2 separate regions of the Homo sapiens genome follow, and region 1 is linked to region 2. The links are contacts of gene promoters, found by promoter capture Hi-C in human tissues and cell types (Jung and others, 2019). All regions are on one chromosome and are shown on one strand. Each heading gives the region's core, a stretch centred on a gene start or on the middle of the fragment in contact. The rest is flanking DNA. Distances are from core to core; before and after follow the strand shown. Region 1 holds the start of SLC37A4 (solute carrier family 37 member 4). Region 2 holds the start of NLRX1 (NLR family member X1).

The links. Contacts are between HindIII fragments. The study calls those that stand out against the background at their distance.
Region 1: the fragment with the promoter of SLC37A4 here is called in contact with the fragment with the promoter of NLRX1 in region 2 in 1 of the 25 tissues and cell types used here (psoas muscle).

What each region holds. Positions count from the first base shown.
Region 1 is chr11:119,029,627-119,035,037 of GRCh38, reverse strand. It overlaps SLC37A4 (solute carrier family 37 member 4), which reads left to right and starts at 4,161. Exons shown (of 10, transcript NM_001467.6): 1 at 4,161-4,189. RefSeq lists a silencer at 4,547-4,706. The HindIII fragment of the contact is 21,386 bases long and covers 1-5,411 here.
Region 2 is chr11:119,165,075-119,170,540 of GRCh38, reverse strand. NLRX1 (NLR family member X1) reads right to left here and starts at 1,816. Exons shown (of 10, transcript NM_001282144.2): 1 at 1,239-1,816. RefSeq lists enhancers at 316-1,020, 1,021-1,726 and a silencer at 1,298-1,907. The HindIII fragment of the contact is 23,273 bases long and covers 1-5,466 here.

The DNA of each region.
Region 1 (5,411 bases), core at 2,912-5,411, 140 kb after region 2:
TAAATTTTTTGTAGCAATGGGGTCTCACTACGTTGCCCAGGCTGGTCTCAAACTCCTGACCTCAAGCCATCCTTCCAAAGTGTTGGGATTGTAAGCATGAGCCACTGGGCCCAACCTCGGATGATATTTAAAATAATGTTGTCCATTCATTTCTATGGCTTCTGAAAAAAAAATAAAAACTTTGTCCAGTTTCCAACAAATTCTGTTGGGATATAGATTGGGATGGTTTTAAAATGCCAAATGAATTTTGAATGGATTGACATTTGGACAGTATCAAAGTCATAGCTTGTTTTTCAGGCATGTAGTATGATTTACGTTTGTTCAAATTACCTTTTATTATCCCTTAGTAAAGTCTTTGTACTGTATTGGGATGTCATCTTCTCATTTCTTTTTCTTTTCTTTCTTTCTTTCTTTTTTTTTTTTTTTGAGACGGAGTCTCACTCTGTCACCTAGGCTGGAGTGCAATGGCGCCATCTCAGCTCACTGCAACTTCTGCCTCCCAGGTTCAAGTGATTCTCCTGCCTCAGCCTCCTGATTAGCTGGGATTACAGGTGTACACCACCACACCCGGCTAATTTTTGTATTTTTAGTAGAGACAGGGTTTCACCATGTTGGTCAGGCTGGTCTCGAACTCCTGACCTCATGATCCGCGCGCCTCAGCCTCGCAAAGTGCTGGGATTACGGGAGTAAGCCACCATGCCCGGCCTATCTTCTCATTTCTTAACATTCTTTGGAAATACAGTGAGCAAACTAGCATTTGAGTCCCTACTATCCTGATCATAAAGTGCTTTAAAATGTTTTTCCATTTAATTCCCACTGACTGGGTGCGATGGATCATGCTTGTAATCGCCGCACTTTGGGAGCCTGAGGCAGGTGGATAACCTAAACTCAGGAGTTTGAGACTAGCCTGGCCAACATGGCGAAACCCCCTCTGTACGCCGGGTGCGGTGGCTCACGCTTGTAATCTAGCACTTTGGGAGGCCGAGGCGGGTGGATCACGAGGTCAGGATCGAGACCATCCTGGCTAACACAGTGAAACCCCGTCTCTACTAAAAATACAAAAAATTAGCTGACCGTGGTGGCGGGTGTCTGTAGTCCCAGCTACTCGGGAGGCTGAGGCAGGAGAATGGCATGAACCTGGGAGGCGGAGCTTGCAGTGAGCCCAGATGGTGCCACTGCACTCCAGCCTGGGCGAGAGAGCGAGACTCTGTCTCAAAAAAAAAAAAAAAAAAAAGAAAGAAAAAGAAAAAAAGAAAGAAAGAAACCCTGTCTGTACTAAAAATACAAAAATTAGCCAGGCGTGTTTGCGGGCACCTATAATACCAACTACTCAGGAAGCTGAGGCAGAAGAATCGCTTGAACCCAGGTGGCCTGGTCCTGTAGTCTTAGCTACTTGGGAGGATCGCTCAATGCTCAGGAATTTGAGGTTAGAGTGAGCTAAGATACCATTGCACTCCAGCCTGGGCAACAGAGCAAGCCTGTCTCAAAAACAAACAAACAAACAAACAAACAAACAAAAAAAACAGACCGGGCGCAGTGGCTCACGCCTGTAATCCTAGCACTTTGGGAGACCGAGGTGGGCGGATTACCTGAGGTCAGGAGTTCGAGACCAGCCTGGCCAATAGGGTGAAACCCTGTCTCTACTAAAAATACAAAAATTAGCTGGGCGTGGTGGCACATGCTTGTAATCCCAGCTACTCAGGAGGCTCAGGCAGGAGAATGGCTTGAGCCCAGGAGGCAGAGGTTGCAGTGAGCCGAGATCCTGCCACTGCACTTCAGCCTGGCCGACAGAGCAAGACTCTGTCTCAAAAACAAACAAACAAACAAATAAACACCATCGACCAGGCACAGTGGCTCATGCCTGTAATTCCAGGATATTGGAAGACCAAGGCAGGTGGATCCCTTGAGCTCAGGATTTCGAGGCCAGCCTGGCCAATATGGTGAAACTCTTGTCTCTACAAAAAATAGAAAAATTAACCGGGTTGGCTGGGTGCAGTTGTTCATGCCTGTAATCCCAGCACTTTGGGAGGCCAAGGGGGGCAGATCACCTGAAGTCAGGAGTTTGAGACCAGCCTGACCAACATGGAGAAACCCTACCCCTACTAAAATTACAAAATTAGCTGGGCATGGTGGGGCATGCCTGTAATCCCAGCTACTCGGGAGGCTGAGGCAGGAGAATCGCTTGAACCCCAGAGAAGGAGGTTGCAGTGAGCTGAGATCACTCCACTTCCAAAACAAAACGATAGGGCTGTTAATTTAGGTGGTGGTTACACGGGTATTAACATGTGTAAAAAATCACTGAGTTGTACATGTAAGATTCCTGCACTTTTTGTATTTTATTATGTGTATGTTAAATCTTAAAAATAAAAGCGGAGAAAAACCTGATGGCTTCCTACTCCTCTATTAGGTAAAGTAAGAATCTGCTCTGGTTTGGTTTCGGAGGAACTGTTTCCTGGTCCTTGGATCTACCTGGCTGAAAGCACAGTGCCTGGTACAAACTAGGCTCCTCCCCGATTTTGAATTAACGAAGTTCAGTGACATCGTCATCCTATTTTTTTTTTTTTTTTTTTGAGACAGGCTCTCGCTCTGTCACCCAGGCTGGAGTGCAGTGGCACGATCTCGGCTCACTGCAACCTCTGCTTCCCAGGTCCAAGAAATTCTCCTGCCTCAGCCTCCCCAGTAACTGGGATTACAGGCGTGTGCCACCAAGCCTGGCTAATTTTGGTATTTTTAGTAGAGACAGGGTTTCACCATGTTGGCCAGGCTGGTCTCGAACTCCTGACTTCAAGTGATCTGCCCGCCTTGGCCTCCCAATGTGCTGGGATTACAAGCATGAGCCATCGCGTCCGGCCTGTCATCCTATTTTATCTCATCTCCTCCTCCTCCCTTCCCTGACCATCTTCTCTGGAGTAAAAGATCTTTGCTCTCAATTTTGGAACACTTACAATTCCTTCAGCCACTCTTGTTAGGAAGATATAAGGGAAGAGAGCGAGAGACAGGAGGCAACTCAACGGCCAAACAGGTTTATTCACAGGAATAAGCCTGCAAGGAGTTCCAGTCAGGAGTCTGGCTGAGACCCTGATCGCTTACAAGCTGAGGCTTTTATAATATCGTTTCTATTGGGGAGAGGTCGGGAAGTGCTGGCTGATTGGGACTGTTGGGGACTTTGTTAGGCTATGTTACCTTCTGTTGAAGCTATGGGCAGGGTTAACATTTGCTCTGTTTCTGAGAACACAGTCATCATTGTTGTAAAATAGCATCACTACTGTTACTCCTCACAACTCTTAACTGGGATCAGTGAAAACCATTGTTGTTGAGAACTCTTATAGAATTTCTGAGCTCTTATCTAAATCATCTGTTGAGTCTTCACAATGATCTACCAGGCTGGTAGGAAACGGGAGCTCATAGAGATTAACCAAGGTCATACAGTTAGAATGCTGTGGGTCTAGGACTAGAATTTGATATTTACTCCAGGCCCCGTCTCTGTCCCCAACAATCTAACCACAAGTTAAAATTCCAAATTGTGGGCTGGGCGCGGTGGCTCACGCCTGTAATCCCAGCACTTTGGGAGGCCGAGGTGAGCGGATCACGAGGTCAGGAGATCGAGACCATCCTGGCAAACACGGTGAAACCCCGTCTCTACTAAAAATACAAAAAATTACCCGGGCGTGGTGGTGGGCGCCCGTAGTCCCAGCTACTCGGGAGGCTGAGGCAGGAGAATGGTGTGAACCCGGGAGGAGGAGCTTGCAGTGAGCCGAAATCGCGCCACTGCACTCCAGCCTGGGCGACTGAGCGAGACTGTTTCAAAAAAAAAAAAAAAGAAAAAAAGAAAATACTGTGTGTTCCTACAACACCTTTCCCAGACTGTGAGCAACTTGGGAACAATGATTATCACCTTAGTGTTCGGTGTGTTTTGTAGAGGAGGGCACTCACTAAAAACTGGTTTGTTGAATGCAACCACTTAAGAATTGGACATGCCGTGCCCAGCCCCTAAGGGGCGCTATGCTCGTTCGTCCAAGGAGCAGCGTGACCAGCGGGAGGGAGTAAGTCGACGTCCCCGGCATGTGGGGCGGGGAACTCCACTGGCCGGCAAGCGAAGCAGCAGGCGAAGACCACGCCCCCGCCGGCCGCGCTTGCGCAGCCTTCGCTAGCCCCGCCCCGTCCTATTCGGGCTCCCGCCTCTGTTCAGGTAGGAGGCGGTATGCGGGGGAGGGGAGTCACCTGAGGGCGGGGATCTCAGGTCTTGGGGAGCCATTGTTGGCGAACCCCAACTTCCGATACGACCCGGAGCTGTTCCTGCAGTTCCAGAGACAATTCATGGGTCTTGGGGCCACCGAGGCGCTGTCCCTGACCACCAGCACGAGACCCCTTTCTATCGCGCCAGTCCTGTGGTCTCCGCACCTCTCCAGCTCCTGCACCCCCGGCCCCCGTGGTTCCCAGCCGCACAGTAGCGTGTCCTGGGTAGCGTGAGGACCCACGGGGCTGGGCAGGTGCCACGAGCCCGCCGCCTCTTCGCCGCCCGCCGCCTCTCCTCCTCTCCCGCCCGCCGCCTGGCCCTCCCCTACCAGGCTGAGCCTCTGGGTGCCAGAAGCGCGGGGCCTCCGGGAGAATACGTGCGGTCGCCCGCTCCGCGTGCGCCTACGCCTTCTGCTCCAGTTGCTTTCCCAATTGAGCGGAAAAGCCGGGGCATGTTGCCGGGGCCCTGGGCGGGACGGTTGTGCCCTGCAGCCCGAAGCCCGCCGGGGCACCTTCCCGCCCACGAGCTGCCCAGTCCCTCTGCTTGCGGCCCCTGCCAACGTCCCACAGGTTGGAAACCAGACCCTGCAGCCCCCAGCTAGCCCGAAGGAAGCCCAGACTGACGTCGCAGGGTAATGGGGACCCAGAGGTAGCTCTGTGGGGCCCCATCAGGACCTCAGCCCTTAGCGGGGCTTTCTGTGTGACACCGTGGGACCTGAACTGGGGAGGTCCCCCTTGCACAGAATTACAAGGGGCAACTGTAGGAAACAATTAAATCTATTATGTGCTAAGTATTGAGAGTTCCACGGATTGAGGCCCTCTCTAGAAGGCTTAGAAGTGGGGTAGCCGGGGTATGTGTCTGACTTTGTGTTTTGGTGCGGTGGTGGTGAGTGGGTGTAGAAACTAATAGTGCCAAGTGCAGTGCCTGTCAACTAGTAAGTTAATAAACCTTCCGTGAATGAATGAGAAGGTTCTGTGACTGAGGGAGCAGGGCTAGAGAGGGCATCTCTGCTCATCCCACCCCTGCCTCCCCTGGGCTCAGGCAGACAAAAGTAATTAGGTTGAACCTTTAATCAAAGCTGGTTTCACAGGCAAGCAGACATGATAGAGGAGGTAAAGGCAGAAATCCTGGGGACACAGGGTGCTGGCCTGGCTCACAGGCATGCCTCCTTCCG
Region 2 (5,466 bases), core at 567-3,066:
ACTTGACATCTCCAGATGGACAACCTGCCACTGCTTCAAACTTCTCCCATGTAAAACTGAACTCATCATTCCCCTCCTCTTGTCATTTACCTTGCTGCAAATCTTCCCACCCACGCCTTACATTAGAAACCTGACCTCTCTCTTCAAATCTTTCTTCCCTTGCTCCTTTAGGCAGTGTGAAGAGTCCTAGCAATTCCTCCCCACTGCTTTGCCAGCCAGTTGCTGCCCCGACCAGCATTTATTGGACCCGATCTCCTCACCAGCCTTTCTGCCTTCAGTCTCATCCCATTCTAATCCCTCACCCCAAGCACCAAGCACCTCCCGAAAAGTCCAAGGTTACTTATAGAGTCCAAACACTGGGCTCCCACAAGCTATTTTTCTGAGTTTGTCCCAGCCTGTGCCTTATACCCCAGGCTCACCGGATTCTTGCTCTTGCTGTCCTAAATTTGTTCATACACTCTTCCCAGTTTGGAATGACCTTTTTCCTCTGTTAGAGTCCCAACCAATTTTTTTTTTTTTTTTTTTTTTTTTTTTTTTTTTCCTGAGACAGGGTCTCTCGCTCTGTTGCCCAGGCTGGAGTGCAGTAGTACGATCTCAGCTCACAGCAACCTCTACCTCCTGGGCTCAAGCCATCCTCCTGCTTCAGCCTCCTGAGTAGCTAGGACTAAAGTGGTGTGCCACCACACCTGGCTAATTTTTGGCTTTGGTTTTTGTAGAGACGGGGTTTTCACCATTGTTGCCCAGGGTGGTCTCGAACTCCTGGGCTCAAGTGATCCGCCCGCCTTGCCCTCCCAAAGTGCGGGGACTGCAGGCGCGAGCCACCACTCGGGCCCCAACCAATCTTTTAAGATCCTGCTCAAAAGTCTCCGTCCCTGGGAAGTCTTTTCTGAGGCCTCTGAACTCACTTAAATGGAATGTGCCCCTATTTGGCACCTGGTCTCCTCCACTGAGATCGGGGCTTCTTGGGCAGGGTACGCTTAAGGAGAACTGGCTGCATTGGGCCACCTGCCTTAGCAGGGCCAACCAGCGGAGGAGCTGGCTGGGTGCTGGCCCGTCCCAGGGGCTGCGGAAGGGTTAAGAGAGGGCTCCAGAAGCCTGAGAAAGCCTAGGTTCCGGTTTAACCTCGGATCTAGGGCCACTGAGTCAAGACGGGACTTGCGGGGCCGAGGGCAGTTCTCCGGTGATCACCCAGGTCTCCAGGGCAATGAGAAAAGGAGGGGGCACTGCAGGAAACGTACAGGGGCGGTGTTCCTACAGGTCCAGAGCTCCTCCACCAAACTGGGTCCCAAACAGCTCTCCTACTTTCGGGTGGCCTCGGGAACGCAGGGGGAGACTTGCCAGAACGCCCGCCATTCAGCGCCCAGCTCCGTCCCTCTCGTTCTCGGCCGGGATCTCCCCGCGGCCCTTGCACAGCCTCCTCCCCCGGCCCGCCCTGCCCCCCGCTCAGCGCGGCCTCCCAGCCAGGGCGCAGGGGTTATCAAGCCCGCTAGGCCTTTACCCGCGGCTGCCCAGTTCCGGGAGCCGTCGGCCGCGGCCCAGAGGGGTCGGCTGGGCGGACGCCGGCGTCTCCCGCTAGCTCCCAGAGTCCCCGGCTCCTCGGCGTGGCGCTTCCTGCCCACCTCCGCCCGCCTGCGCGGCCCTGGCACCTGGCAGCGGGCGCGAAAGAGGACGAGCCCAGGCACTCGGGCCTGCGGGGTCCTGGGACGAGGGGGTCAGCGAGAGGGGCCCGGTGCTCCGGAGCAGGCGCAGGGCTGGAACCCCGGCGCCACCCGTCCCGCCATCGTCCCCCCTCCCTGCCTCCATCCCCGCGGGCACTGCCGCTAGTACTGCCCTCTGCAGGTTCCCAAGCGCCAGTGACACCCAGTGACCTCACTAACCACCTCCCAGGCTGGGCTGCTTGTTAGGCCCATTTTACAGATGAAGAAACTGATGCTCAGAAGGGTGAAATGACTTGTGCAGGTTGATTCAGTTAGGAAGTGGATGAGCCAGAACAACATCCCGGGCCTGAGTCTTCCTACCTTACCCCTGGGCCTCCCTGAGGCGCGGTGTCCAGGGGATTCTTCCCTCTGTCCCTCTCCGCCTCCCCAGCCTACCTTCAGGCAGAGACCTGAGCCTAAGGCTTCCTTGGGTTCTGCCTTATGTATCCGGTCCTCTTCAGAGCCCAGACCTATGTGTGTGGCTGCTGGTAACCTTGGTTAAGAAAGAAGGAAGAATGGGGGCTGAAGGACAACTTGCACCCCAACCTGCTCTTCGGGTCTGACACCCATTCATGGCCTAGCCCTGGGGCTTCCCAGTTCCCAAAGCCCCCACCCTTATCCCTACACTTCCACACACTTCCACACCCTGGGCTCACGTAGCCCAGAAGGAGGAGCCACCCACCACCCACAGCCAGGGCACGCCTTCGTATGCAAGCATGAGTGTACGATGTTCACACAACAGAGCTGTGCACTAGGGCACCCACAGAGAGGCTCTCCAGGGCAGGGCTGGGAAGAGGACTTACTGAAAACAATGTGGATGTTTCATTTAGACATTTGTTCATTCGTTGTACTGTGGTATTGGGTAGCACTGAGCACCTCACCCCCACAAGCCAGGTCCAGCACTAGGCCCTGGGCTGCCAACCACAGCAAGGCAGGCACCTCACTTTAATGGAATCAACTACCACATTTACAAATGATGTACTTCAAGGCCGAGGCAGGAGGATCACTTGAGACCAGGAGTTTGAGACCAGCCTGGGTGACATAGTGAGACCCTGTCTCTATTTAAAATGAAAATAGAAAATAAAAATATAAAAAACAGACAAACAAATGATGTACTTCAGTGGCAGAGGCAAGGCATTAGGAGAGTCTGGAAAAGGGAGTGCAGAGGAGGTAACATTTGTACTGGATCTGAAAAAATAAATCAGAGGACCAGCCGCGGTGGCTCACACCTGTAATCTCAGCACTTTGGAAGGCTGGGGGTGAGGGCAGATCTCCTGAGGCCAGGAGTTTGGGACCAGCTCAAACTCGTCACCATGGCCAACATGGTGAAACCCCCGTCTCTACTAAAAATAACAAAAATTGGCCAGGCATGGTGGCTCATGCCTGTAATCCTAGCACTTTGGGAGGCCAAGGCAGGCGGATTGCCTGAGCTCAGAAGTTCACGACCAACCTAGGCAACGTGGTGAAACCTCATCTCTACTAAAAATACAAAAATTAGCCGGGCTGGGTGGTGCATGCCTGCAGTCCCAGCTACACAGGAGGCTTAGGCAGGAGAATCGCTTGAATCCAGGAGGCGGAGGTTGCCGTGAGCCAAGATCACGCCACTGCATTCCAGCCTGGGAGACAGAGCAAGACTCTGTATCAAAAAAAAAAAAAAAATCAACCAGACGTGGTGGCATGGGCCTGTAGTACCAGCTACTCAGAAGGCTGAGGCACAAGAATTGCTTGAACTTGGGAGGTAGAGGTTGCAGTGAGCCGAGATCATGCCACTGCACTCTAGCCTGGGAGATAAAGCAAAACCGTGTCTCAAAAATAAAAACAAAAGCACAAAAAATTAGCTGGGCATGGTGGCACATGCCCATAATCACAGCTACTCAGGAGACTGAAGCAGGAGAATTGCTTGAACCTGGGAGGCGGAGGTTGCAGTGAGCCAAGATTGCACCACTGCACTCCAACCTGGGCAACAGAGAGAGACCCTGTCTCAATAAATAAATAAATCAGAGAAAGGAAAGGCAGGGCATCCCAGCAGCAGGGTGAACAACACATTTGCATTTTAAAAGAGGTTCTTCAAGGGGAGTAGAATAGGATGTGGGAGGGGAAGTATAGGAACCCCATGAATGTAGTCTCATGGGTGACAGTTTGGGCCTGGTAATCTCCTCTAGCTTCATTCCACTTACCTAGCCATGCAAGACAGTCACCTGGCAGCAGTTCCTGGACACAGCTCAGAGCAATCTGTTTTCCTCCCCTGTCACCTTCCCCATGGGTACGACAACCATGTAGGTTTTATTAATAACATATACTTTGACTGGCCTCTTGCAGACAGAAGTACTGTGAGTCATGCCGTGGGCATGTCCTCTGTTGTCTGACCTAGGATGCGGTGCAGTGGCTCACCCTATAATCCCAGCACTTTGGGAGGCCGAGGTGGGTGGATCACCTGAGGTCAGTAGTTCGAGACCAGCCTGACCAACGTGGTGAAACCCCGTCTCTACTAGAAATACAAAAAAATTAGCCAGGCTTGGTGGCAGGCACCTGTAGTCCCAGCTACTCAGGAGGCTGAGGCAGGAGAATCGCTTGAACCCAGGAGGCAGAGGTTGCAGTGAGCCGCGATCATGCCACTACACACTCCAGCCTTGGCTACAGAGTGAGACTCTGTCTAAAAAAAAAAAAAAAAGTTATAGCATGAGGCCGGGGTGTGGTTGCTCACACCTGTAATCCCAGCACTTTGGGAGGCTAAGGCAGAAGGATCACTCGAGCCCAGGAGTTTGAGACCAGCTTGGGCAACATAATAGAACCCTGACTCCACAAAAATAATTTTTAAAAAATTAGCTAGGCATGGTGGCACGCACCTGCGGTCCCAGCTACTCTAGAGTCTGAGATGGGAGGATCGCTTGAGCCCAGGAAGTTGAGGCTGCAGTAAGCCATGGTTGCACCCTGTACTCTAGCATGGGTGACAGAGCGAGACCCTGTCTCAAAAAAAAAGAATTATTGCATGGACAACTGTCTTAGTCAACTCTGGTCTTCAGCACTTTGCATAGGTCTGGACACAGAGAAGGTGACTGTGTTAAAGAAGATGATATCAGATGGGCGTGGTGGCTCACGCCTGTAATCCCAGCACTTTGGGAGGCCAGTGTGGGTGGATTGCCTGAGCTCAGGAGTTCGAGATCATCAGGGCTACATGGTGAAACCCCGCCTCTACTAAAAATACAAAAAAAATTAACCAGGTGTGGTGGCGCACGCCTCTAGTCCCAGCTACTTGGGAGGCTGAGGCAGGAGAATTGCTTGAGCCCCAGAGGCGAAGGTTGCAGTGAGCCGAGATCACGCCACTGCACTCCAGCTTGGGCTACAGAGTGAGACTCCGTCTCAAAAAAGAAAAAAAAAAAGATGATCTGTAAGCCCAGGTACTTAGGTACTTTGGCACTTAGGGAGAGAGGGCCCACTTCAAAACATACTTAGATGGGCAGGGAGCATTTATGCTCCAACTCAGCAGGTTACTGGGACTGGTGGGAGGAACATGGGGTAGGGCACAGTGGCAAGAGTACAGTATCTCGCCGGGAGTGGTGGCTCATGTCTGTAATCCCAGCACTTTGGGAGGCCGAGACGGGTGGATCACGAGGTCCGGAGATTGAGACCATCCTGGCTAACACGGTGAAACCCCGTCTCTACTAAAAATACAAAAAAATTAGCCAGGCGTAGTGGCAGGCACCTCTAGTCCCAGCTACTTGGGAGGCTGAGGCAGGAGAATGTCGTGAACCCAGGAGGCAGAGCTTGC